Regions from separate parts of the Homo sapiens genome. Here region 1 is linked to region 2. Evidence: promoter capture Hi-C in 16 types of primary human blood cells and fetal thymus (Javierre and others, 2016). All regions are on one chromosome and are shown on one strand. Each heading gives the region's core, a stretch centred on a gene start or on the middle of the fragment in contact. The rest is flanking DNA. Distances are from core to core; before and after follow the strand shown.

Region 1 (2,700 bases), core at 126-2,625, 1.2 Mb after region 2:
CTACTTTCAGTATAAAAGGAAAGAGTGACAAGGATAAATTCAAGTTTAGTAAAAGCTCAATAGAAAAAGCAGTTGCAGCCATTTACGAGTTTATATAGGAGAATACTTCCGCCAAAAACCAGTGCTGCTTAGCAGCAAACTGATTACTGTCAGAATGCCTCCTCTCTGCTCAGTGTCTCACTTCTAGCTGGATACCAAAAGCACAACAATATCACTGTGAATGAAATCATGATACAAAAATATAACACGAAAGCTTAAATGCACAGGAAGAAAGTCACATTAAATACATTTGAAAAAATGGCTGGGAGCGGGGGCTCATGCCTGTAATCATAGCACTTTGGGAGGCTGAGGCAGGTGGATCACAAGGTCAGGAGATCGGGGCCATCCTGGCTAACACGTTGAAACCCTGTCTCTACTAAAAATACAAAAAAAAAAAAAAAAATAGCTAGGTGTGGTGGCGCACACCTGTAATCCCAGCTACTCGGGAGGCTGAGGCAGAAGTGTTGCTTGAACCTGGGAGGCAGAGGTTGCAGTGTGCCGAGATCATGCCATTGCACTCCAGCCCAGGAGAGAGCGAGAGACTCCGTATCAAAAAAAAAAAAAAAAAGAAAGAAAAAGAAAAATAACAACCTTTGTCAACTACACTATAATATTTAACTAAGGGAATCCTATCAGCGTTTATTCGAAAATGTAAGCAACCTTTATTATTTTACTATCCTGAAGGATGTAATAAACCCATGCTTTTGTTCAACCTAATAACTGGTAGATTACCCAATCAAGTAGTTAACTCAGGTTAGCTACAGGAAAAAAAAAACAAAAAACAAAAAACACAACAACAAAAAAACGCCATTAGCCTGGCACAATGTGCATTCAGTAACCTGTAATCAACTACTAAGTAAATTACAGAAGCAGAAAACAGAGCTGCATGTTTGTTACAAAAAAAAAAAAAAAGGAGAAAGCTTATAACAACTTCCACTTCTTAAGCCATATTGACTCACATTAATTTAGGATGCCTGAGGCTATGAGTATGGTACCCTGAGGTGTAAGTGAAGGTGATCTTCTCTTCTCACGTCTATGAACAATATTTTCCCAACTTTGTTTTTAAAGTGAGAATTAGGGTATAGATAGATGCTTTGTAATTTTTCCATCCAAAAGCTTGAATAAATGGTTAATTGCTGACTTAAATTGCAATAAAGAAGTGTCCTAATTTCAAACAAGGATGCTCACTTTCAGAATCTCATAATCTTTTCAAAATTCTATTTTATTCATAAATAGGATAAAAATCTTTTTGCAAGCTTCACTAAGTCTCTCCATAAGCCCCTGCCCAACAGATGCAAGTTCAATAGCTAGAATTCAAACCAGATAATTTATTGGCTTACAAATGAATTGGCATCTATAAAAATAAGCCTTCTAAAAAGGCTTCACGCTGTTTAAATCCTTCTAAAATGCTCTGGCTAAGCTTGCCCACCCTTTATCAATGTAAGACTGATAAAATGCATTTTCATTATCAACATAAAATGGAAGCATCAAGATAGTTGAAATGTTAGTTTAGAAAGTCATTTGCAGTGACATTTAAAACAATTTATTTGAACATTTGACTCATGATAAGAATACTGCCTATTACATTAAGATTGGCTGTTCAGAATTCACTGGAGCCCTATTCTCCCCCTCTGTGACAGTTAACATCTTTTGATATTAAGGGTCATTACACATCTAAAATGAAAAAGAAATAAGAAAAAAGAACCCCACGCCATTCTGAGCAAGTGCCTATTAAAATGACTGATCCTTGACATTTTAATGCAGACTGTATGATGGCTTCCTCTCTATTGCCCCCTGTGAAGCCTTTCCCTGTATTGGTAATAACTTTGCCGATGTCCAACCCTGTGGAACATTCATCCTACCTTTTCCCCACTCTGCAGAATGCTTCCCTCTAAAGAATCACCAGAGAACAGGGAAAATAAACAAATCTGCAAACAAATTCCCGGGCAGTTCACATCACCTCCCAAAGGACACTGACAATAGCTGAAGAGACCACAACACACAAACTCGTTTTTCAGCCAGCCTGTAATGTTCCTCCTATACACACTCTGGAAATCCTCAGCTCCCTTCAACTCCGGAGCAAGAGCCACCAATATTCCAGGTCAGCCACCTATATAATATGCTCACCACGAGAGAAGACTCAAGGTAAAATTAAACTGACAGAAAAAAGGAATTTTCCTTGTTAGATCATCAAGCCTCCGGAATCATGCAAACATGTGTGTATGTTATGGTGTTTACGGGGACCTAACTGAGAAACGTCGTGGTTCCAGGGGCTTCCCTCATGTGTCAGGATGGACTTTATCAGGATTCTCATCCTACAAAGCTACCATGTCAGTCACAAAAGACAACTACGCAATCTGTTTCGATGTAATAAATTCAGGAGTTGAGCTGTATGGCAAGCCCATCTTAGAAGTCCTCAACACCAGGAGAGGATCTGTCCTAGTTAGGAGCAGAAAGCAGATCTCATAATATCCAAGTTGTCTGGAAACATGATATATGGTAGGGCAGTCTTTCCAGCTCCCATTTTGTTGGTGCCTTCACCTCGGGTTGTCAGGGCTGGGGTTAGGGAAATTGCCTCTTTCCGTCTCTATCTCTTTTAACTTCGCAGCGAGAGCTGGAAGCAGTGACTGTTCCCATCACCTAGTGTCCTTCTGTCAGGGG
Region 2 (2,700 bases), core at 182-2,681:
AAGTGCTATACAAGTATATACAGGAAAACCGTACACATAAATGAGTAATATATAAATCCACCACGTACTCTTTTTCCATATGAATAAACGCACATACAAGTACATACCTTTTTGAAACACTTCGTTTAAATTACTGGAGGACTAATTTGTCGACCTAAAGAACTGAGGCAAGGCCGAGCACGGTGGCTCATGCTTGTAATCCCAGCACTTTGGGAGGCCGAGAAGGGCGGATCACCTGAGGTCCGGAGTTCGAGACCAGCCTGACCAACATGGAGAAACCCCGTCTCTACTAAAAATACAAAATTAGCCTGGCGTGGTGGTGGTGCATACCTGTAAGGAGAATCGCTTGGGCGGGGTGGGGAGGGGCGGAGGTTGCCGTGAGCCGAGATCGCACCATTGCACTCCAGCCTGGGCAACAACAGCGGAATTACGTCTCAAAAAAAAAAAAGAACTGAGGCACAATTCATATAAGTAGAATGTTTATTTGGGGCAAGTTTGAGGATTGCAACCCAGAGCACAGATTCAAAATGCCCTGAGTAGCAGCAGTTGCAAGTGGGTTTTTAGAGGAAAAAATGGCAGTTCCTAAATTGTCTACCAAGAATTTACATTAAAATAACACAAGCGATTGATTGGCTATACATCATTCTTTTCATGACAAATTCCAGGAACGCGGACATAATGGGTGAAGCAGCTAGTCAGGAATAAAATGCCAGGCATTAAGTGGGGAGGTGTCTGAAGTCCCATACTGCTGTCTCTCTGGGCCCGGCAAATTTTGCACATCTCAAATAATTAACAATGCTCCGAGCCATTCTTCTTTTCTCATATAGAACAAGACTCACGAAAACCGACAGCAGCAGCTTTAGGAGGCCCAATACAGTCCGTTTTCCGTACGAAATGAGTTTAATTTATTGTGACTGCTCCAAAAGAAAAGTGCGGTTCATCTAATTTTCTTCCGAAAAGGAAGTTAAGGACCAGAGTTTCTTTGACCCCCTTCCCCCCACCCACCTCCTCCATTTTCCAGCTCTAGAGAATGGCTGGGGCAGCGCGCGACGTTGTAGCTACGGTTACGACCCGCCCCGTTCCTTCTACGAGAACCACATCAGCGTAGTATCACTTTTCCCCTCCGAAGCACAGTCACCCGTCAGCAGCCTCGAGGGCTGACGTGTCCTTATCAAGCCGGCGCGCCCCGCGATTCTATAGCCGCCATGCCTGAGACCTTTTTCCTGAAGGGAGAAGCCTGCTCTCGAACTAAGGCCGGCGAGGGCCATAGGTCTCGCCTTCCCTTTCCTAAGAAGGCCTAGTCCTACCCAGGATTCTGAGCAAGGGAGGCTCCTATTGGAGCCGCTACAGCCTCGTTCTTAGCTTACCGAGAAACAGCGCCCGACACCTGGCCCTTCGCAGCTCTCGCCTTTCGCAGCTCTCGCCTAACAGGAAAGGGAAGAAACAGGCGGAAGTGGGAACTGCACCTGAGCGACAGTACTGCAAACCAATAGGCAGCCGGCCACGGCGGTCAGGCGCCTTCGGTCGCGTCTGGAAAGCACCAACCAACGGTCTAAGGGGCGGGCCGGAGGGGTGTGGGCCGGAGGGCCGCGGTGTGCCGCGGGGCAGTTGCGGGTTGTCATAACGGTCCCCGCCGGAGTGAGGCGAGGCCGCGTCGCTCAGTTCTGGCCGTCTAGGGCCCCTGTAAGGATGAGAGCGCAGAGGACGCAGGGCCGCTGGAGGCGCAGGTAACGAAGCTAGGGTGCGGTTGGGACCGCGGCTGAGCTTTTTCCGGGACCCGTGGTGCTGAATGGAGAGGACGGAGACGAAGCCGAGCCGCGGCTCCTAGCGGCGGCGCCGATGCTCGAGCTGTAGCTGCCAGGCGAGGATGTGTGGAGCGCAGGCGGCGCGGGGTAAATGAGAGGTCTCGGGCCCCAGGACCCCCGGGGCCCGGGATGAGTTAGCGAGGGCAGCCGCGGGGGCCAGTTCCGACCGTGACAGGCCAAGGCGACGGCCGCCGCCCGCCCGCCCCTTCCGTGCAGAAGCAGCTGCTCCTTTCCGCGCCCGCCCGCCTGCGCTCCCGGCCCTGGAGACCATGAGGTTCCGCATCTACAAACGGAAGGTGCTAATCCTGACGCTCGTGGTGGCCGCCTGCGGCTTCGTCCTCTGGAGCAGCAATGGGCGACAAAGGAAGAACGAGGCCCTCGCCCCACCGTTGCTGGACGCCGAACCCGCGCGGGGTGCCGGCGGCCGCGGTGGGGACCACCCCTCTGTGGCTGTGGGCATCCGCAGGGTCTCCAACGTGTCGGCGGCTTCCCTGGTCCCGGCGGTCCCCCAGCCCGAGGCGGACAACCTGACGCTGCGGTACCGGTCCCTGGTGTACCAGCTGAACTTTGATCAGACCCTGAGGAATGTAGATAAGGCTGGCACCTGGGCCCCCCGGGAGCTGGTGCTGGTGGTCCAGGTGCATAACCGGCCCGAATACCTCAGACTGCTGCTGGACTCACTTCGAAAAGCCCAGGGAATTGACAACGTCCTCGTCATCTTTAGCCATGACTTCTGGTCGACCGAGATCAATCAGCTGATCGCCGGGGTGAATTTCTGTCCGGTTCTGCAGGTGTTCTTTCCTTTCAGCATTCAGTTGTACCCTAACGAGTTTCCAGGTAGTGACCCTAGAGATTGTCCCAGAGACCTGCCGAAGAATGCCGCTTTGAAATTGGG

What was found. Contacts are between HindIII fragments. The CHiCAGO score rates a contact against its expected background, and 5 or more counts as called.
Region 1: a fragment that was not itself captured here is called in contact with the fragment with the promoter of RPL36AL in region 2 in 2 of 17 cell types (naive CD4 T cells and non-activated CD4 T cells); the score reaches 6.6 in naive CD4 T cells.

Annotation. Positions count from the first base shown.
Region 1 is chr14:50,827,167-50,829,866 of GRCh38, forward strand. All of the region lies in intron 2 of NIN (ninein), which reads right to left. Among named protein-coding and RNA genes, the nearest start is that of NIN, 2.6 kb to the right of the region's middle. RefSeq lists an enhancer at 2,678-2,700. The HindIII fragment of the contact is 164 bases long and covers 1,294-1,457 here.
Region 2 is chr14:49,619,195-49,621,894 of GRCh38, forward strand. It overlaps RPL36AL (ribosomal protein L36a like), which reads right to left and starts at 1,432. Exons shown (of 2, transcript NM_001001.5): 1 at 1,368-1,432. MGAT2 (alpha-1,6-mannosyl-glycoprotein 2-beta-N-acetylglucosaminyltransferase) reads left to right here and starts at 1,605. Exons shown (of 1, transcript NM_002408.4): 1 at 1,605-2,700. The coding sequence starts at 2,075. RefSeq lists enhancers at 1,207-1,316, 1,705-2,255 and silencers at 1,477-1,686, 1,987-2,096. The HindIII fragment of the contact is 17,089 bases long and covers 1-2,700 here.